Linked DNA regions of Homo sapiens: regions 1, 2, 4, 5 and 6 are each linked to region 3. Evidence: promoter capture Hi-C in 16 types of primary human blood cells and fetal thymus (Javierre and others, 2016). All regions are on one chromosome and are shown on one strand. Each heading gives the region's core, a stretch centred on a gene start or on the middle of the fragment in contact. The rest is flanking DNA. Distances are from core to core; before and after follow the strand shown.

The links. The method cuts DNA at HindIII sites, captures the fragments that hold promoters and counts their contacts. A CHiCAGO score of 5 or more calls a contact.
Region 1: a fragment that was not itself captured here is called in contact with the fragment with the promoter of DEPDC1B in region 3 in 1 of 17 cell types (megakaryocytes); the score reaches 5.0 in megakaryocytes.
Region 2: a contact is called between a fragment that was not itself captured here and the fragment with the promoter of DEPDC1B in region 3, in 2 of 17 cell types (fetal thymus and megakaryocytes). The highest score is 5.2, in fetal thymus.
Region 4: a contact is called between a fragment that was not itself captured here and the fragment with the promoter of DEPDC1B in region 3, in 1 of 17 cell types (megakaryocytes). The highest score is 6.1, in megakaryocytes.
Region 5: a fragment that was not itself captured here is called in contact with the fragment with the promoter of DEPDC1B in region 3 in 1 of 17 cell types (megakaryocytes); the score reaches 5.5 in megakaryocytes.
Region 6: a contact is called between a fragment that was not itself captured here and the fragment with the promoter of DEPDC1B in region 3, in 1 of 17 cell types (megakaryocytes). The highest score is 10.3, in megakaryocytes.

The regions. Positions count from the first base shown.
Region 1 is chr5:60,897,613-60,901,292 of GRCh38, reverse strand. It overlaps ERCC8 (ERCC excision repair 8, CSA ubiquitin ligase complex subunit), which reads left to right. Exons shown (of 12, transcript NM_000082.4): 8 at 1,566-1,666; 9 at 2,893-3,017. Among named protein-coding and RNA genes, the nearest start is that of ERCC8-AS1, 18 kb to the left of the region's middle. The HindIII fragment of the contact is 3,291 bases long and covers 475-3,680 here.
Region 2 is chr5:60,940,878-60,944,477 of GRCh38, reverse strand. All of the region lies in intron 1 of ERCC8 (ERCC excision repair 8, CSA ubiquitin ligase complex subunit), which reads left to right. Among named protein-coding and RNA genes, the nearest start is that of ERCC8, 2.4 kb to the left of the region's middle. The HindIII fragment of the contact is 3,704 bases long and covers 1-3,313 here.
Region 3 is chr5:60,698,896-60,702,530 of GRCh38, reverse strand. It overlaps DEPDC1B (DEP domain containing 1B), which reads left to right and starts at 2,365. Exons shown (of 11, transcript NM_018369.3): 1 at 2,365-2,485. The coding sequence starts at 2,438. It overlaps LOC124900982 (a long non-coding RNA gene), which reads right to left and starts at 2,291. Exons shown (of 2, transcript XR_007058779.1): 1 at 2,190-2,291; 2 at 444-877. The HindIII fragment of the contact is 2,062 bases long and covers 1,040-3,101 here.
Region 4 is chr5:60,880,516-60,883,751 of GRCh38, reverse strand. All of the region lies in intron 11 of ERCC8 (ERCC excision repair 8, CSA ubiquitin ligase complex subunit), which reads left to right. Among named protein-coding and RNA genes, the nearest start is that of ERCC8-AS1, 35 kb to the left of the region's middle. The HindIII fragment of the contact is 3,991 bases long and covers 1-3,236 here.
Region 5 is chr5:60,851,687-60,855,388 of GRCh38, reverse strand. No RefSeq gene overlaps it. Among named protein-coding and RNA genes, the nearest start is that of ELOVL7, 9.3 kb to the right of the region's middle. The HindIII fragment of the contact is 443 bases long and covers 1,958-2,400 here.
Region 6 is chr5:60,923,373-60,927,047 of GRCh38, reverse strand. All of the region lies in intron 2 of ERCC8 (ERCC excision repair 8, CSA ubiquitin ligase complex subunit), which reads left to right. Among named protein-coding and RNA genes, the nearest start is that of ERCC8-AS1, 8.0 kb to the right of the region's middle. The HindIII fragment of the contact is 648 bases long and covers 1,803-2,450 here.

The DNA.
Region 1 (3,680 bases), core at 871-3,370, 200 kb before region 3:
TTGTAGAAGTCATGGGTAAAAGGAAAAAAATCACAAAAAGGCTTGTAGGAGGGATCAAGGATCTAATGAAGTAGAAGTATGAGAGTTAGACTAAGAAAATTTAAAAACTGAAGGGATAGGAAGTAGTAATCAAATATTTTTATATATTTTCATAAAACTTTAAGTAGAAGAAGAATTATTACGAAAGCTATTCATATTAATTTTATAAAGATCTGTGTCTGGATTTTTTTTTAAGTTGCCAGCCCTGTCTCCCTGTCACAGTTCAGGCCCCAAAGAAGCTTCTGTTAATAACTGGCAGAATGTGATGTTGAAATTTATGATTTCTGAAGTGCAGCAAGGTCTAGAATGTAGCCATAAGAAGGCTAGCTGAAGAGGTATGAAGGTTAGGAGCTAGGTGCTGGTTATGCTTGGGTGGATTTTACATTTTTCATGCTTAACTTGGTTTTCATCAGATAAGAGGAGAGCTAAGAAGCTTTCAATTATAAGAATACTCCAGGAATTTGAATCAGTACCACAATGGACCTAGTAATCAGTGTTAAAAGTTGGATATGTTCAAATCTAATCTGTTTCAGAAGAGACTTAAATCCTCATACTGATTTCATTTCCTTCACCTGGAAAGAAAGAAAACCAACTTAAGAATGGGTAATGCTAGTTTTTTGCTAACTATTCCAGTTGGCTAGGTTTGATGGTCATCTGTGAAAAGAATCGAGGTTATAGAAACCAGTAAACCTTGTGTGTATATTTTTTTAAAAAAATTAAATAAAAAATAGGCTTATAAAAATGTAATGCTCTCTCTTATTAAAATGGCATTGATAAGCCCCCTGGGTTACAATATTGTTGAGGTCCTTGTGAGGACATGATAGCATCAGTTGAACTGATTAGGAGCACGTCGGATTGCCAGGCATTTTTCTTTAGAAATAATCTAGAAGCTGAAATAGATGTCTGATCATAGATTTGCCTTTCTTCTTTTTGCTTACTTGAAAGAAAATGAAAGTAAGTGTCTAATTTCTAGGAGACATTAAATATAGTTCTCATATATCTGGCAAAGATTGATTTGAGTATAGGAAACCAAATGGAAATGCATTGTCCTCATTATTCACCTTACACTTACCGTTTTTTATATAAAAAGGAAAAAAACACCAAATCATACCAAATGGATTCTTGAGCAAAGTGAAATTAGTTAATTGCTTGTCTTGACAGCATTTGGATAACAAGCAGTAGAAAAGGTATGGTAAGGAACTTACTTGGAACAAGCTACAAGCCTTTCTGGTCCTTGGGAGAAAAGATGCTCATGTAATTTAAAACAATATAAAAAGCAGCAAAATTTTGTTCTTGTTATCTGGAAAAGAAAGGTTACTTTTTTTTTTTGCTATTTACTCACTTATTTGAGCTACTGTTGACTATTGAATATTTGCTGAAAAGGCAAAAGTTCAACAACCCTAATGTATGAATACATATGTACCTATATAACGAGACCTCTGTGTGCCATAAAATTAGAAAGGTGGGTGAGGGGTACAGTCATTGTCCTAGCTACATATGTCAATGTAACATTTATTTCTTCTCAGTGCTGACAGTAGAGTAAAATTATGGGATGTGAGAAGAGCATCAGGATGTTTGATTACTCTTGATCAACATAATGGGAAAAAGTCACAAGCTGTTGAATCAGGTAAGGAAGAACGCATTAATAAATATGACAATGATAGTATTTTTTTACATTGAAAATTTTTAATTGAAGCCACATAATAAACGCATATTGACAAATTGCAAACTTTATGATTTTTCAAAAGGCATTCATCGTATATCACTTTCTTAATTTACATAAACTAAATTATGATTCTCTTTCTTTAAGATACAAATAAAAATGGCAGTTTCATTTGCCCCCAAATTTTCAAAAGTAGAAATTTTTGTGAATTAACTTGCTTTACTTGTTTTGTTTTTGCTCCATTGAGGCCAACTATACATATTCAATGCCATTTAAAAAGTCACAATAAATTACAGAAATAGTAACATTTTGTGGCCATTGTATCAACATAAAATTGTGTTAAATGTGAGTCAGCTGCAATCCATGTGACAAAGTACCTAAACTGCATTTTTACAGTAGAATTTAATTCCTGTGTAGAAATTTTGATAGAGAATTAATTCTGGACCAGAAATATATTAGAATGAACTATATAAAACCTATAATTGTTTTATGTAATTTCTTAACAACTATAGTTTTATGTAGTTTCTACATAAAACTATATAAAACAATCACAAAGTTTAAAAACTATATAAAACAATCATAGGTTTTATATAGTTCATTCTAATATATTTCATATATTAGAATTTATATAGTTTTTTAAAAAACCTTATGAAACATGTAAACTATATAAAACATGTTTTATATGTTTTTAAATTAATTAGGCTATTTTAGAATTATGCTTTCTCAAACTTGTTAATTTTGTAAGTGATATAAATTTTGAGACTACAACAGTCATCCTTTCCCTGTTTTTTTTTTCAATGGAAAACACTAGAATTATTGATTTTAATAGTCCATAGAATGATTTTTAGGTTAGCAATAAAAATATATGAGAGATGAAAGGCATTTAATTTTAAATTTTAGTGTTAAGCTACACATTTAATTGAATTTCATGGCACAATTTCCTTGCTGGAAAAGAAAAGTATGTTAGGCAGAAATTTTTTCCCTTTTTTTTTTGTTTTCCTCTATTTTTATGGTTCTGATTTATATAGCTTATCCTATTCAAATAATCTGAAGGGTTGGTTAAGTATAATCTACTTACATTTTTTAAGTAACTCAAGTAGTTGTCCTTTAATATGTTTAATTATATCATCAAACATTAAATATGTCCTGAATACAAGAACAGATAAACTGAACTATGTTTTTCATTGCAGCAAACACTGCTCATAATGGGAAAGTTAATGGCTTATGTTTTACAAGTGATGGACTTCACCTCCTCACTGTTGGTACAGATAATCGAATGAGGCTCTGGAATAGTTCCAATGGAGAAAACACACTTGTAAGAGATTTTTAAGTATATATTTGGGTATAAATTAAGAAATGGATCTGTGACATACACTTGATTTTTTTATATATTTAACTCATTTATTCCCTTTTAATCACAGCTGTTTTTAAAAATGTGTTTCTACTATGTGGACTAGTAATTCTCAACTCAGGACAACCCACCCTTACCCACTACCTACCACATTCTCCCTACTTAGCAGAGAATCACTGTTCTACTGAGCCACTGTTCTCAATGGGAGTGCAAAGCGTAGTAGAGAAAAATAAAAGACTGAGGACTACTGATATAAATTAAAGATATGAAGCTAAGTAATCAAATTTTATATAGGTTGAGTATCCCTAATCTGAAAATCTGAAATCTGAAATGTTCCAAAATCTGAAACTTTTTGAGTGCTAGCATGACACACAAAGGAAGTGCTCATTGGAACATTTCAGATTTTGAATATTCAGATTAGGGATGTTCAGGCAGTAAAGCAAATATTCTAAAATCCAAAATACTTCTAGTCCAAATCATTTTGGATGGGGATACTTAACCTGTACTATATATGACTTATAAACAAAATTTACAGTGAATTTTATAGTACCAGAATATGTAGTACTTTATTTAATACTACTGCAATAAATATATTTCGAAGGTGCTATATTCTTATGTGGCTATTAA
Region 2 (3,600 bases), core at 212-2,711, 240 kb before region 3:
TGGGGTAGGGACCATTGACAAGAGATGAAGTAGACAGAAACTAGATGAGGAAGAGCCTTGTGTACTTGAGTAGAGGTGTGAAGATGAGAATAAGGTAACAGCTATTGCATTTTGTTTTCTGCTTGGAGAATGGGTTGCAACTGAGAACAAGAGTGGGAGCCAAGTTAGGTAACTGTTGTGATTACACTTGTCCGGGAGAGAGTTGTTGGAAGCCTGGGCCACAGAGTTGCCAAGTAGAATAAAGATAGTGGAGAGATTTGAACAACGTCTGAGAAATAGAATCAACAGGCCATGGAAATTGAGTGGATACGTGAATGACAAAAAGAGAAGAATGAATAATGATTCCCAGATCTATGCCTTGTATAAGAAGTTGAATGTTGGTAATATACTCTGAGAGAGGGTTTTCCAAAGGGAAGAAGCAAGTTGTACTTTTAATTTTGCCCACATTAATTGAGGAACCTGTGAAGATATTTACTTGGAGAACACAGTTGCTTATGAGTTCTGCGTTCTGGAGAAATTTAAATATTAGTTTCCAACATTTTATCCATTACGTTTTCAATGTTGTGAAATATCTCTGAGAGTTCCTTTAATGTGTTTTTTTTGCCAGTGTCACTTCCTCTGACACATCATCAGCCTTTCATCACAATCACTTTTCCTCATTTATGTCTATAAGTTCACCTTCACTGATTTCCTCAGTCTGCATATCTAGAATGTCTCAAATGGCGGCAGTGTCATTGTTGCCACAATCAGCATGTTCCCACAGGCAGCTTTTTTTTCATTTGCTCCATTTATGTTTAATGCAAGTTTCACTTCTAGTATTATCACTCTTCTTTAGTGCACTTTCATTCTTTTGGCCAATTTCCTCTTTTAATCTGTAAAATTCCATGTGGGTTTATCTCAAGGGCACAGAAATATTAATAACAAACCTCCATGCTTTGCAGCCTGTGTGTGAACTGAATAACAGATGCACAGTGACCAATCACCCATAGACTTTGAAAGAAGTAAAATTGCAAATTGGTCAATTTTGATTCATATGTTATTTATGTAATGATTTGTGAACTGAAAAGCTAGTAGCAAACTTTTATGCTATTTCTCACGGTTAATAAACTGTGGTAACTGAAATTCATATCAGACTGTGCCAAGTGAGGATTGCTTATACGTTTAAGACAAATAAAGTATTTAAAAATTAAAAAAATATTTTTTTTTTGAGGCAGGGTCTTGCTCTGTCACCCAGGCTGGAATGCAGTGGTGCAGTTACAGCTCACTGCAGCCTCGACTTTCCAGGCTCAAATGATCCTCCCATCTCATCCTCCTAAGTAGCTGGGACCACAGACATGTGCCCACACACCTAGCTAATTTTTAAATTTTTCGTAGAGATGGGGTCTCCCTATGTTTCCCATTCTGGTCTTGAACTCCTGGGCTGAAGTGATCCTCCTGCCTTTGCCTCCTAAAGTGCCGGGATTATATGTGCGAGCTACCACACAGCCTAAAATTTTTTTAAAAATATTTCCATCATTAAGTGATGTTTTTGCTTAAACAATTATATAGTTCCATTTTATTCATAGGAGATGTCTACTGTTCTTCCTTGTCATCATGTAAGAGCAAAAGGATGAACACTGATATGCAGTGTTCACAGTTTACACCCTCTAAAAAAACATTTTACAACTTTATTGAGGTATAATTGACATGCAATACCCTGCACATTAAATGAGAATATACAATTTGATGAATTTTGACATATATTTACTTTTGAAACCATTACCATAATCAAGAGAACATCCATAACCCTAAAAAATTTTTGACGGTCATTTATAATCCCTGTCTCCCTTCTTTCTCTGCTTTACCCTCTTCCTTCTCTAGAAACTACTAATCTGCTTTAGGTCACTATAGATTAGTTTGCATATCTAGTATTTTATATAAATGGAATCTTTTTTGTCTGGCTTCTTTCACTCAGCATAATTACATTATTTTGAAATTTCTCCATGTTATTGCATGTATCAATTCCTTTTTTTTGCTGTGGAGTATCCCACTGTGCAGATATACCACAGTTTATCTAGTCACTTGTCGATGGACATCTGAGTTGTTTCCAGTTCAGGACTAATACATTTACAGCTGCTCTGAAAATTCATGTATGAGTCATTGTATGAACATATGCTTTTATTTCTCTGAAGTTAATGCATAACAGTGGAGCTACTAGATAAATCCTTTACTTTTTAAGAAACTGACAGTTTTCCAAAAGCATTTTCCAGTCCCACCACTAATAGGTGAGAGTGCTAGCTGCTCCATATTTATGTTTCCCCTTTCCTGCTTTCATTTGACTGTTTGAACATTATTTAGTATTCTATTTTATATACTATGGTTTTGACTATATCTTTTTGTATAATTCTTTAGTGGCTGCTCTAGGAATTATAAAATACTTACTTTTCGTTGTCTACTTCGGATCATTTCATTGTTTTACTGCTTCATTTGGCATATAGAAACCTTATCACCCTTTCCCCTGCACCATATATATATTGTTGTCTTATATTTTATATTTACATACATTATATACTCTATCAGACATTATAATTTTTTCCAACCATCAATCATATTTTAAGGAAAAAAGTAGCCATTATATTTAACCAGATAGTTATTTCTGTTGCTGTCTCTTTATTCCTGATGCCTCAAATTTCCTTCTTATATCTTTTTCTTGTCTCTGAAGAATATAGTTTATCAATTTTTTTAGAGTAGGTCTAATGGTTTCTGAAAAGGAATCTGCAGCCATTCAAATCATTGTTTTCCTATAGGTAATTTATCATTTTTCTCTGGTTGCTTTGAAGACTTCGTCTTTAGTTTTCAGCAGTTTAATTATGATGTGTCTGGTTGCAGATCTCTTTGGATTTATCCTAGTTAGGGTTCATTCTGCTTCTTGAACTTGTAGACTTATATCTTTCCATAAACTTGGGAACTTTCCAGCCATTTTTTCCAATGTTTTTTCAACACTACACTCTTTCTCTTCTCCTTCTAGACCTCCAATGACAAAAATGTTAGTCCTTTTATAATTGTTCCTCTGATCCCTAAGGCTTTGTTCTTTTTCCCTTCGATCTTTTTTCCTCTATATTGTTAGATTGTATAATTTTAATGGATCTATCTTCAAGTTCACAGATTTTTTCCTCTGCCATCTCCAATCTGTTAGTGAATACATTAAGTTAAAATAATTTTATATTGAAAACTAAAATTTCCATTTGGCTTTTATTTATGTCTTCTATTTCTTTGCTGAGACTTTCTGTTTTAACATCTGTTTCAAGTGTGTGCACAATGGCTTACTCAAGCTTTTTTTTTATTTTTAGAGATGAGGCCTCACTGTTTTGCCCAGGCTGGTCCTGAACTCCTAGGCTGAAGCAGTCCCCCTGCCTCAGCTTCACAAGAGTCACTGGGATTACAGGCTCGGGCCACCATGCCAGTGTTGCTCAAGTTCAAGCATTTTACAATGGTTGCCTTGAAGTCTTTATCAGATAATCTCAACACTTGTGTCATCTCAGCTTTGGCTTGTTTTGTTTGTCTTTTCCCATGCAAGTTGAAATTTTCACGGTTCTTTATATGCAGGGAAATTTTGGATTT
Region 3 (3,635 bases), core at 1,116-3,615:
CACCATGATAGGTGGTGGCAGGTCTCAGACAAGGCTTTAAAATTCCCTTTCTCCTGCTTCTTGTGTCAAGGACACAAGTATCTCTTTATATTCCTTGCCAAGGACAAGAAGATCTCTTCCATGGAGCTTAGAGGTTAAAAGAAAAAAAGTTCTGATAAGGATTCACTTACTGGAAGTAAGAAAAAAATTTTAAATTGCTTTTTCTAATTACAAAAGCAATATATATGTATCATCTCAGGACATTTCTTGGGCTAAATAAAAACCTAAGGCAGCAAATGGGTGGTGGTAGTGGTGTGGTTTTGAGGATGAGAAGAGGTGGTCCAATCCCTTACTTAGATCTTTCTTATGATGTTATAGGGGAGCCAGAGATCACCTCCAAGCTCCCTTTTACCTCTTAATGAGCTCTCCAGTTGTATCTAGAAACCACACTGACACCAGGAAGATTACCAGGAGAAAAGTATACACATTTTATTAGTTTTATGTGCACATGGGGATCTTCACAAGAGAGTGAAGTCTGAAGAAGTGGCCAAAGTAAGATGCTTTTATTCATTTTTTTAGGTAAAGAGAGATAAATTTGAGAAGAAAAGCCATGACAAAGAAAATCTGGTTAAGGTGTTACAGTAGGTAGCTAGTCAGGCATGAGCAGGGCAGGAGAGGGCTCCCCCTCATACACACACACATCAGGAATGTCAGGCAGCCATCAGGTGATGGTCAGGTGGTTGTTAATTGTCTCTCTAAAATAATAGTTGGTCACAGCCGGCACCAGGGAAAGGCAGTCTCCTAATAGAAAACACTTGAACTGTTGATCAGCAGCTTCCCGATAAGATCTTAGGAGTTGGGCAAGTGGGCTCAAGTATGCGCCTGTGGACAGCTCACTCTAAGGGAAGAATCAGGAGAGAAGTAATGCAAAGCCCCAAAAGCAAGACCCCAGAAGTATGCCAACGTATAAAACCCCAGGTCAAAAGGTCAAACTACGCACTAGATCTCTCAAGTCACTGGCTTGGCCCTCTTCCAAGTGTACTTCCTTTCATTCAAAGCTTTTTAATAAACTTCACTTCTGTTCTAATACTTGCCTTGGTCTCTCCTTTTGCCTTATGCCCCTCAGTCGAACTCTTTCTTCTGAGGAGTCAAGAATTGAGGTTGCTGCAGATCTGTAGGAATTCACTGCCTGTAACATACTTTGGGGCCGTGTCTCGGATATGGGCAGCTGCTAACATATTTTGGTGCCCTGTGACTCGAGTTAACTTCCACAGCTCACAAAGGCAGTAACATTTTCTAGGGAGTCACTAGAAGATATATGTAAAAAATCTCCTATATCTCCTAGTGGAAGATAGGGTTACTTCGTTAAGAATGTTTATTCAGGTCCACTGCAGCCTTCAATTCCAAGCCTTTGGTGATAAAGGCTATTTTCTCACCGTGGTAGGGAGAGGATGCCCATCCCAGAGAAATCTTTGTGGCCTGCTGCATCGAAGAGGCAGGTCAGCTTGCCCTTTCTGAAACTACCATTTCTCCAATGTTTTCCGCTCGAAATAATCAATATACCAATTAGGCATATTTTGGAATGGCACACCTTCACTCCTTCAACGTCTTGTCCTGGGTACTTACCGAGATGACCAAATTTGAGTAGGTGTACAGAGTCCTAAGTATATGGAGTTACTTCATTTGTCCCTCTGAAAGATTGCAAATCGGACTAGCAATTCCCAGGGGGAAAATTCTAAGCAGTCAAAAAAGGACTCACAACCCTATTGCCGAGGACTAAAAGTATCAGCCCAATACAAAACATAGAACTCAAATTAAAGGGGAAAAGACTATCATGAGAACAAACAGAAGAGGAATCGGGGCTCCCTTCCCGCTCTTTATTGCCCTTAACACACTGTCTACGCTCCTTGTGCTCTCTATCCCGTTTTTAAATGTCCCTACACTGGTAAAAGCTGTCGCCTCGCTTCATTTCACTACCGCTTCTCCCAGCGTTAGCAGCACCTCCAGGCTCACAGTGCACTTGGTAGGGAGGACAGGTATTTATCCACGCGGCCCAAAGCTGGGTTTCGGTCGCTGGATAACACCTATTATTGACCCTTTTGTAGAGATAGCGTTGCGTGTGTTTGTGTTGCGCGGACGCAGAAATCTGGGAAGGGCGCTGCACAGCGTTTTCCAGCGCTGGGGAGACGCCCCCGGCCCCTTAGTCGCACCTGCCTAGGTGTGCTCGCACGGTGGGACCAGGGTGGGCAACAGATTTCGCCCCGGGCAAGTTCGCACGCGGAGCTCCCAGCGCCGCGGGTCTCGGAGAAGACGCCTGCCTCCCCGCGCATTTCCGGTGACGTGCTGCCGCGCCGCCCAATCAGCGCCCGCAGCCCGCGGGCTTGGGATTCAAACTGCTGCTCCTCCGGCTGGCGGGGATCAGCGCTGGCGCGGCTGCGGCCGCTGCTGCCTACGCGCCATGGAGCATCGCATCGTGGGGCCCGGGCCGTACCGAGCTACCAGGCTGGTGAGTGAGTGTGCTGGGGCCTGGGCGGAGCACCCGGTGCCGCGAGCCCCCACTCAGCGCGCGGACAGAGTGCTTGTCAGTCTTCGCTTCCGCAGGCCAGCGGGGCTCGGGTGTGGAGCATTTCAGCTGGGACTACTGGGGCTGCCTTTTAGTGGACGAGCCTCAAAGAAAGGCTAACGGGGCCCAGAGCTCAGCCGGCCGGGGGTTAGTGCAGCTTTGTCCATGAGATGTTGACTGGGTTCTCGGCAGTAGATGGCGCCTCTCTGTTTAAAGACCCCAAGACCAGGCTGTTCCCTGCCTTTTGTCCTCTGGAATCTAACCGACCCGGTCGGTAACCTGAGGGGCCACCACGTACCCCGTAACGCTCAGCGTTCGCGGCAGTCCAGGCAGGGCGTGTCTCCTTCCTGAGTGACACCTGATGATACCTGACGGGGTATTCGAATAAACGGTGCCCAGAACAGAGGGGCATCGCGCTGGCCGCATTTCCGGCCCCTGGCGTTTCTGTTTCTGTCAGCACCGATCCAGATGAAGAGCTGGCCAGGACAGATGTTTTAGGAGAGTCTTTGCCGACTCTGAGTTCCTGTTTTTTTTTTTTTTTTTTTCTGGGAGAAAAGCTTTGGTATTGAGGTGTACTTGGTCTGCTTTGACTTGGAACAATAAAGGGTGACAGTTTGGTAATGTCTGTGGCAAGTTTTTAGAGGACTTTCTGTGGAAGTGTAATGGTAATTTGGGAGGACAGTAACTTGCTCCTTGGTCTGCCGACCTCTCTGGCCACATTTAACATGGGAATTACTCTCATAGTTCCATGCATTATAATGAATACACAGGAAAAGATGGGAACTAACATCCAAACTCTTACTCAGCTAGACTCATGGAAGAGGTGAGGATGCTGGGATACAGATAATGTAAATAGAGTTTCCTTTTCTTTCCAAAGCCAGCCACACACTATACCAGTAAGTCAAGCCAGAGCTGAGAAGGCCAGCTTCTGGAAGAGAAATCATAGTTGGGGCTGATGGGTCTTTACTTTTTAAATTTGGCTCATAGATCGCTTTGAGAATCTGATGAAGATTAAGGATCTTCTTCACAGAAAACTGCACATGGCACATACTCATGAAATTTTACATGATTTAAGGGGATGGATCGCTTGAGG
Region 4 (3,236 bases), core at 383-2,882, 180 kb before region 3:
TTATTCCAGTTTAAACCTGACCTCTCACTAAGAATCTTACTTTGTTTTGACATTCACACAATACATAACTGTTTTACATATCACTTGTGTCAATGTATAATCACTTGCTGACAACCTGAGAGTTGCCACTAATTACCAGTCAGAAATTTGAAAGTTATCAAGAAATATCCTTGTAGATGTTAAGTTTGGTTCTATTCCTTCTCTAAACTCATAACTAGGTCCCCTCTAAACTCATGCTTCATTATTTCTATAACATTGACACTATCTGTCAGTAGAATTGACAACCTGGTGAGATATAGATGAATATGTTCAAGCACAGACTGCATGTCCACTAGGAGGAGATGTTGCAGAGAAAACTGAAATAATAGTAGTGACACTTGATCAGTGGGTCTCAAATGGTAATGTGTACCACATCCATCTACAACATTTTTACTGCTGCTTTATCATACTACCAGTATAATATTTATTTGTGATTGTTTTGGCAATAAAATGTATTTCTAAAATACTGTAATGCATTCATATATCATTATTTCACTGAAAAGTGAAATAATTTGTATGCAACTGATTATGATTTTCATTTATTTTTGTTTCTTTGCTTACCATACAAAAATAATTTATGATGAAGTATAATTTTGCTTTTCTGTTGAGTTTTCAACTGAAATTAAAATTTTTAATAGGTTACACACTGGGCTTCCATAGTAGGATTAGGAAGCATGGCCCTCATGTGGCTTATCCACCTACAGACATGTGTGTGTGTGTGTGTGTGTGTGTGTGTGTGTGTTTTCCCAGGGCTATTTTTGGTAGTTATCAAAGGCAAGTTAAAGGCTTCTAGAGACAGAGTAGGGAAGAGGAGTCAGCTAACCCCCAATGACAAGATGTCTTTTAATAAACTCTCACTAAATAACCTAATTTAATAGTCAAATTGACAACCCAAAAAGACAGGAAATTCAGTAAACATTTGGATGAAAGACAAAATGAACAGACTTCAGTATACAACTGTTGCAAATAAGTGTACCGTGGCTAGAAATCAGTGAGTAGTTACCTGAGGTTTAATAATAGTTTCGTGCCCAGGAGTGGTGGCTCACGCCTGTAATCCCAGCACTTTGGGAGGCCAAGGCTGGCAGATCACAAGATCTGGAGTTCAAGACCAGCCTAGCCAATATGGTGAAACCCCATCTCTACTAAAAATACAAAAATTCGCCGGTGGCATGCGCCTGTAGTCACAGCTACTTAGGAAGCTGAGGCAGAAGACTCACTTGAACCTGGGGGGCAGAGGTTGCAGAGAGCCAAGATCATGCCACTGCACTCCAGCCTGGGTGACAGAGCAAGACTCCATCTCAAATAATAATAATAATAGTTTCGCTTCTGGACATTTGGAGTATAGCTGACATTAAGTTTAATAATGTAATCTGTTTAACAATAAAGAATGCCTAAATTAATATATTGTTTTCCAGCTCTTCTAGCTGATACTTGGAAAATGTACTAGGAACACGTAACTTTTTCTACTGTTTTCATTGATTGAATTCTAAGATTCAAAGTTATCATATTCATCAAAAGGAAAATGAACATTCTCAGACATGCAGTAGGGGTTACCATTAAAAAATGTTTCTAAGCCGGGCGCAGTGGCTCACGCCTGTAATCCCAGCACTCTGGGAGGCTGAGGTAGGCAGATCACGAGATCAGGAGATCGAGATCATCCTGGCTAACACGGTGAAACCCCGTCTCTACTAAAAATACAAAAAACTAGGTGGAGCCAAGATGGCCGAATAGGAACAGCTCCAGTCTGCAGCTCCCAGCGTGAGCAATGCAGAAGACAGGTGATTTATGCATTTCCAACTGAGGTACCAGGTTCATCTCACTGGGGAGTGTCGGACAGTGGGTGCAGGACAGTGGGTGCAGCGCACTGAGCATGAGCCAAAGCAGGGTGAGGCATCGCCTCACCTGGGAAGCACAAGGGGTCAGGGAATTCCCTTTCTTAGTCACAGAAAGGGGTGACAGACGGCACCTGGAAAATCGGGTCACTCCCACCCTAATACTGCACTTTTCCAATGGTCTTAGCAAACAGCACACCAGGAGATTATATCCTGCGCCTGGCTCGGAGGGTCCGACGCCCACAGAGCCTCGCCCATTGCTAGCACAGCAGTCTGAGATCAAACTGCAAGGCGGCAGCCAGGCTGGGGGAGGGGCGCCCGCCATTGCTGAGGCTTGAGTAGGTAAACAAAGCGGCTGGGAAGATCAAACTGGGTGGAGCCCACCACAGCTCAAGGAGGCCTGCCGGCCTCTGTAGACTTCACCTCTGGGGGCACGGCATAGCCAAACAAAAGGCAGCAGAAACCTCTGCAGACTTAAATGTCCCTGTCTGACAGCTTTGAAGAGAATAGTGGTTCTCCCAGCACGCAGCTGGAGATCTGAGAACAGACAGACTGCCTCCTCAAGTGGGTCCCTGATGCCGAGTAGCCTAACTGTGAGGCACCCCCCAGTAGGGGCAGACTGACACCTCACAGAGCCAGGTGCACCTCTGAGACAAAACTCCCAGAGGAACGATCAGCTAGCAACATTTGCTATTCACCAATATCCACTGTTCTGCAGTCTCTGAGCTGATAGCCAGGCAAACGGTCTGGAGGGGACCTCCAGCAAACTTCAACAGACCTGTTGCTGAGGGTCCTGACTGTTAGAAGGAAAACTAACAAGCAGAAAGGACATCCACACCAAAACCCCATCTGTACGTCACCATCATCAAAGACCAAAGGTAGATAAAACCACAAAGATGGGGAAAAAACAGAGCAGAAAAACTGGAAACTCTAAAAGTCAGAGCACCTCTCCTCCTCCAAAGGAACGCAGCTCCTCACCAGCAACAGAACAAACTGGATGGAGAATGACATTGACGAGTTGAGAAAAAAGGGCTTCAGACGATCAAACTACTCCGGGCTAAAGGAGGAAGTTTGAACCCATGGCAAAGAAGTTAAAAACCTTGAAAAAAAATTAGACAAATGGCTAACTAGAATAACCAATGCAGACAAGTCCTTTAACGACCTGATGGAGCTGAAAACCATGGCACGAGAACTACGTGATGAATGTTCAAGCCTCAGTAGCTGATTTGATCAACTGGAAGAAAGGGTATCAGTGATGGAAGATCAAATGAATGAAATGAAGTGAGAAGAGAAGTTTAGAGAAAAAAGAATAAAAAGAAATGAACAAAGCCTCCAAGAAATATGGGACTATGTGAAAAGACCAAA
Region 5 (3,702 bases), core at 930-3,429, 150 kb before region 3:
TACTCACTAAGGAAACAGTTTTACCAGCTCAAATTCATCTATTGAATCATTCATTCACAAGTTGAGCTCCAACTAAGTGCCAGTGAATAAAACAGACCAAATCCTTACCTATGCTCAAACATTCCCCTCGAGAGTGGATGTTTATTAGCATGAATTTAAAGTTGTGACTGCAGAAATAGGCATAATATAAGAAAGACGCAGGCTTGAAAAACTGAGCACATATGGCCTTATTATACTGAAGTGGAGGAAAAAGACAATGTAAATGTGTAAAATAAGGTATATTATTGAAACTACAAAGGAGGAAAAAAAGGCAGAGAAAAGGAATGGGAAGTGGGAGGAGGGAATAGCATTAAAATTTTAGATGGGGTATCCAGGAAAAGCTTCATTGAGAAAGGTGAATTTTGAGTAATGACCTCAAGGAAGTGAGGGACTTACCCATGTAGATATCTCAGAAAAGAACATTCCAGACAAAGGGAGTATCAAGTATAAAGGCCCTTTGAGATAAGAGCACAATGGCATGTCCAAGGATCAGCAAGAAAGCTGAATGGAGAAGGATAATTAGGGGGATAGTGGTTACAGATTATCTCAGGTCAAGAAGGGCCTTGTAGGTACCTATAGGGCTGATAGGAAGCCATTGGAAGGTTTTGAGCAAAGGAGAGACATAATCTGACTTTGGTGTTAACAGGGGAACTCTGGTGTCAGAGTGGGGATTGGCTGAAGGGAAGTGCTATGGTCTGATTGTTTGTGTCTCCCCTAAATCCATATGTTGAAACCTAATCACCAAGGTATTAGGAGGTAGGGACTTTAGGAGGTGATAATGTCATGAGAACGGAGTGCTGCCTTTTCCCCTTCCACCACATGAAGACACAGCAAGAAGGCACCACTATGAACCATACAGCTAACTAGTCCTGACCAGGCACCAAATCTGCTAGTGTCTTGATCTTGGACTTCTCAGCCTCCAGAACTGTAAGAAATCAATTTCTGTTGTTTAGAAGCCACCCAGCTTAGTATATTTTGTTATAGCAGCCCAAAGAGACTAAGGGAACAATAAGCAGAATCAAAGAAATCAGTTAAGAGGCTATTGAAATATTCCAAGCAAGAGATGACGGTGGCGGTACCAACATGATGGCAGTGGAGATGGTGGGAAGTGGTTTTAGATATATTTTGAAGAGTTGGCAGAGAGGAAGAGAAGAGTCAAAGATGACTCCAAGGATTTTGGCCTGAGCAACCAAAAGAATAGAGTTGCCATTGAATGAGGTAGAGAAGACTACAAAAAGGGGAAATATCAGTGGCTCTGTTTTGGACATTTAAGTTTGAGATACAAATTATTAATCAAATGGTGAGGCCCAGTGGGCACTCAGATATACAAATCTGGAATTCAAGAAAAAGATACAGTCTAGAAAACACATTTGGGAATCATGACTATAGAGATGGCATTTAAGCCTTTTCTTACTCAGATCACGTGAAGTATGAGTGCAGATAGATGAGAGAAGACAGCTAAGAACAGAACCTTGGAGCACTCCAAAATTTAGGGGTGGAAGATGAGGGAAAAATTGGTGAAGAACCTGAAAAAGAATTTCCAGAAAAAGGAGAAGAGCCAGGCAAGTGTGGTATCCCTGATGTCAAGTGAAGGCAGCATTTCAAGAAAACCGTAATCAACTGTGTCAAATGATGATGATAGGTCAGCTAAGATGAGGACTAAGACGTGACCACTGTCTCATGCTCGCAACAACTACATCACCCCTTAGTCCTGGCAGAGGAGCAAATTTCTCCAGAAAGTTCTTCCCTGCCAGAACCAGTTTGAATTAGGAGTTTCTCTTTAGTGTTCCTTTGGCATACTTTGCTTATCTATATAATAGCATTTAATTATTTTTTAAAAAATGTATTATTGTTTGCCAAGTGCTACTCTAGATGGGCAACTGTTTTTAAAAAAAAGGTCAAAAATTCTCATGAAGCTTTCATTTTAATTGGGGTGTGGAGAGGGGCAGACAATAAACAATATTTCAGAGGAAATGTGTATAGTATGTTAGGTGATAAGTGCTACGTAGAAAAATAATGTAGAAGAGAGGAATAGAGAATGTGAGGAGTTTTAGTTTTAAATAGCATGCTCAGAAAATGCCTCTCTGAGCAAACATCGGGAGGATTTAAAAGAGCAAGTCATGTGGGTATCTGGGAGAAGAGCATTCTAGGCAGAGGGAACAAGCACAGAAGCCCTGAGGCTAAAGCATGCCTGCCGGGTCCAAGAGATAGCAAGGAAATCTGTGTGGGTGTATCTGTCTGAGCAGAAAGGGAGAGTAAAGGAGATAAGGATAAAAGGTAATAGGGAGAGGTGGCAGATCACAAAGGCTCTTGTAGGTCATTGAAAAGACTTTGGCTTATTTTTCAAACAAATGGAAAGCTTGGAGGATTTAGCAGAACGTCCTGAGGTCAGTCTGGTCATTGTTTTGATAATAAACTCTAAGGGCAGAGGACAACAACAGAAGCAGGGAGCTAGTTAAGAGGCTACTGTAATAAGGTAAAGTTAGGAAAACTAGTCCATTAAGGAAGAATATCAAGAGGTTGTCCGCCCTTACCTAGCAAAATATCAAGGAAAGGCCAAAGGAAGAGCTAACCATTTCCTGCTTTCTGCAGGGTGAAACTGTAAATCCTTCTCTGAGTACTATCTTCTCTGAGTATTTTATCACTTGAGGCAGGCTAACAGTTGTAACAGATTAACTACAAAGTTTCAGAGGCTTAATGCACTATAAATTTGTTTATAATTCCTAGAAGATCCTTCCCCTCCACAGGGTAATTTGAGAACACAGAATCCCTTCCATCTTGTGGCTCCACCACATTCAGCATATAAGGCTTCCTTCAGGGTGATGCAGGAGAAAGAACACACAGGATTTCACCTGTTAAATGTGAATGAGCCAGGCCTGGAAGGGACAAGCAACACTTTGCTCGAATTCCATTGGCCAGAATTCACTTTCATGGCCACTGCTAAACTGTAAGGAAGACTGGGAGATATAATCCAGCTGCGTGCCCAGGAGAAAGAGGAAACAAATCTAGTGAATAGCTAGCCATCATCTGCTATAGCTGTGAGTGGGCATGCTTTTCATTTCTACTCAGGAGGCAGAGGTTGCAACGAGCTAAGATCATACCACTGCACTGCAGCTTGGGTGTCAGAGCAAGACCCTATCTAAAAGCAACAAAAACAACAACAACAACAAGTTGGTGTGGTGGCTCATACCCTCATACCTGTAGTCTCAGCTACTCGCCTGAGGATCACCTGAGCCCAGGAGTTTGAGGTTGCAGTGAGCTATGACTACTGCACTGCCCTCTAGACTGGACGACAGAGCAAGACCCTGTCTCTTAAAAATAGGATAGAATATAGAAAAGAATCTGGCCATTTCTATGCCCATCACTGTTTTCCCTTACAATAACTATTTTCTTAAGCTTTCTGAACAAGTCTAATTTTTCCTCATGCTAATCTAGAAAAAAACAGCTGAAACAAATGAGCTGTAACTAAATGACTCACAAACTTTGCTTTGGGGGATATGTCACAGCTCCTTCACTCTCATTTCTTAGAATGCTTTATCTGCACAATTGCTTAAAAATAGATAGGGAACTCATTTTAAATGCATTAAATGGATATATAAAACCAAGAACAACAGAGATAAAAGATACCATTTTTTAAATCACATCCATTTGCAGGGTCAGGTC
Region 6 (3,675 bases), core at 877-3,376, 220 kb before region 3:
TTTAATACTAAGTTTTCTTGTCTATATAAAAACATGAAACCATATCTCTTCATACTCTATCAGCAAAAAGTATCTCATAGTTAATGTCAGTGCCATCAGATACTTCAAATAGAAAGTTAATGGAATCAGAGAAAAGCTTTTGGAAGCCATTTTAACAGAGTCAAAACATCTGACATTATTGTAAATACCATATCAATTAAGATTAAAATTTCAACTTTTAACATAATTTTGTTTTATATTGATAATACATCTGTATGGCAAGAAAAGCAACGTTTCATGAAGATTAATTACGAAGCAAAAGTGTTTTGGGAATTGGTTGTAGTATACATGTAACTCACAACTGTGTCCAAACATTTTATCAATCTAAATAAAAGTTGTAGTTGTTAAAATTTACAAATATTTCTCTATGTACACAATTAGAGTAACTGAACTACAAAATGTAATAAAGCTAATGTGGAATATTTTTTAAAATAACTAAGTAGGGCATTATTAGCAGTCTTTCTTTACTGCCCATCAATTGGATTTTTGAGCCTTCAAATAACTACTTTTAAATTAACCCTATTGTTTTATAAATTGGTATTGAATTTATCTTAAAAACAAGTCTATAAATCAATACATGCTACTAGTTCATGAACTATTTGTGACTGGGTCACAAGATAAGGATCTTGTGCTAAAACATAAATCTACTACATCATTACACACACCATTTAAAGGAGCTAAGACATGTTTGTAACAAGACATTCTCAGTGAAGAAAGACGTGTGTTTGTTTCTGGTACAAGCTCCTTATCTTGGAGAGTTAAATAGCACTGCCTCTACATTTAATTGTATTTTGTTCAAAATCAGATGAAAATCTTTCAATCAAAATACTCAGTGAATGTAGTGCCAAAAACTGTAGTTTGGGTGCCATTCTTGAAAGATGACAGGCCGGGTGCAGTGGCTCACACCTGTAATCCTAGCACTTTGGGAGGCCGAGGCGGGCGGATTACCTGAGGTCAGGAGTTCAAGACCAGCCTGGCCAACGTGGTGAAACCCCGTCTCTACTAAAAATAGAAAAAATTAGCCAGGTGCAGTGGCGCGTGCCCGTAATCCCAGCTACTCTGGAGGCTGAGGCAGGAGAATCACTTGAACCTGGGAGGCAGAGGTTGCAGTGAGCCGAGATCATGCCACTGTACTCCAGTCTGGGCTACAGAGCGAGACTTCTTCTCAGAAAAAAAGAAAGAAAGATGACAATGTCAATGCAGTTTTTAATGTTCCTCTAGTTCTCCATTAAAACACATAAAGAGACTAAAAATGGCAAATAGGAAAAACCAGATTAACACTTACAACCAAACTAGGTCATGAAGTATCCCTACAAACCCCAAACTGTGAATAAGTGGGAACAAACCACTGACAACTAAAAGATCTGTGCACTACCAGCATTTTTGCTAGAGGAGGCAGTAAAAAGCGATAAGGCATCTGATATACCTGGATAAGTCCAAAGTAACCAACAGGTTGGTTGAAAACTTAGCAAGCAAATTTGACTACAGCAGCTCAAACTGGGAGAAGATGGCATACTCTAATTGTAGATATGTTTGAGTGGCCCATGGTAAGACCAGAAGGAGCTATAGCAGTCTGGACTCTAATATCTTTCCAAAGAGCTAACCAGTCAAAGTGCGCCCCCAGTACAGAACTATATACTGAGGAAAACTGCTGGAAATAGAATCCAAATTGAGCAGTACAGAGACAATAGAAACAAAGGAAAAAGATGTCCCCGATAAAATTGGAAAGGTGAACAGAAACAGGAAATCTCTGAAAGTAAGCTTCCATATTTTGAAATCTTACCCCCCAAAAAAAATTTTTAAGGGAAGAAGAGGATGTTTTAATATATAAAATTTAAACATTATTGTAAGTCAAGCCTCCATTCTAAAAGGTTAAGAAAATTAATTTTACATAAAAATGAGCAAAGGAATAGGATTAAGGTCAAAGTTCCTACAAAATCATTATAAAAACAAAGAGAATAAGAAGTGGACTAAAGCTGCTACAGATAGTGAAGTCACACCGGAAAGAAGTATCTATAAAACAGATGAGAACTCTAACCTAATATTTCAAAACTAGGTAAAAGTTGTTTTATAAACATATAATAAATGAGAGAATAATGTTAAGTTATTAGAAAACCTCAGAAATGAGATGCTCAAACTCAGAAAATTAGAAATAAAAATATTTCAGAAATGAAGACTGACTAAAACTTAAAGAACACAAATAAATGGAAGAGGTAATGCCTTAGAAATAGAAACTAGAAAGGAGGAAAATTTTAAAAGCCAAAAAGAAATGAACAGAGGAAAATAATTCAAGAGGTGTATATATAGAACATAGGCAAAGAAGATCCAGCATAACATATGATAGAAGTTCCCAAAAAAGAAACCAAGGCAAAAGAGCAGAATAAATATTAAAACAATAATTCAAGAAAGCTTTTCTAGGATAAATAAGATCTGGAACTTTATATAAGAGGGGGGGATTTATATTGTCACTAGACTTTGACTTTGGGCTTTCTGGCAGAAGAAATGAAGCTTCTTATCCAAGATGCTCAAGGAAATAAAATGTGAGTCAAGGATTTTATATCCAGCCAAACTGATTTCAGATACAAAAAGGACGGATAAATTGTCAACAACACAAGAATTCAGAGACTGTTGTTCTCATTAGCCATTCCTTAGGAATCAACCAGAGAATGAAATCATTCAACCAGAATGACAAGAGAGACAGCAACTTAAGGATTGACGGTGAGCAATAATATTAGCAGATAGCAACACTTTATATAAATGTATAAATTGATGGATCTAGATATTGGTTTGTCTGCTAATATCACATCACAACAAAGAGCAATGGGAAATAGAAATTATTTTAAATTATAGCACATGAATGCAGTCACCAAAGTCCAGGCTGGAAATTACAGGACAAATGATCTGGTTTTTGCAACAAATAAATTACAAGAGAGGGGAAAAGTACAGGAGGGAGGAAGAAAGGTAGAGGAGACCTATAGCTTAAAGTTAAAAGACATTAAAATTTTTTTAAAAAGCAAAGCTAATATTCATGTGTACACTCTAAGGTGATGAACTATGAACTATACAGAAGAGAAAGACAGTGACTACGATAAAAATCATGATAATGAGTTACTTTGAGGTGAAAAGGAAAGAGTGATGATGTAGAGAGATTGCATTGTTTGGATCTCTGTGAAGAATTTTTGATGGTTCCCCTATTTTTGATTGGGATAAATGTATATTTGTAATTGGGATAAATGTATATTTTGTAATGGAATAACATTCACAATGTCTAAGATTTTATAATATTTAAATTTGGTGTAACTTCCAAAAGAGACATAAAGAATTTGTTCAAGGAGAATTTTGTCTTGTAAAAAAATAAGTATACTAAAGAAAGGTACTTTGAATTAAGGTAAAAACAGTGAAAATAACCTGAAATATTTGCACATTTCAAGAATATCCTCCATTTTGCAGAATTTTCTCTGAACTTATCATATACCTCATCAACTATTGTTATTTCCTAAATTAAACATTATGGCTTTTAGGGAAGTCAGTTAAAGGTGTCAACAACTCCAGATTTAAAGATGATTTTTAGACAATTTTATGCCAAAAAAACTAATAAGATCATATTGAAAAATCCCATTTAAAAAAACACAGTAA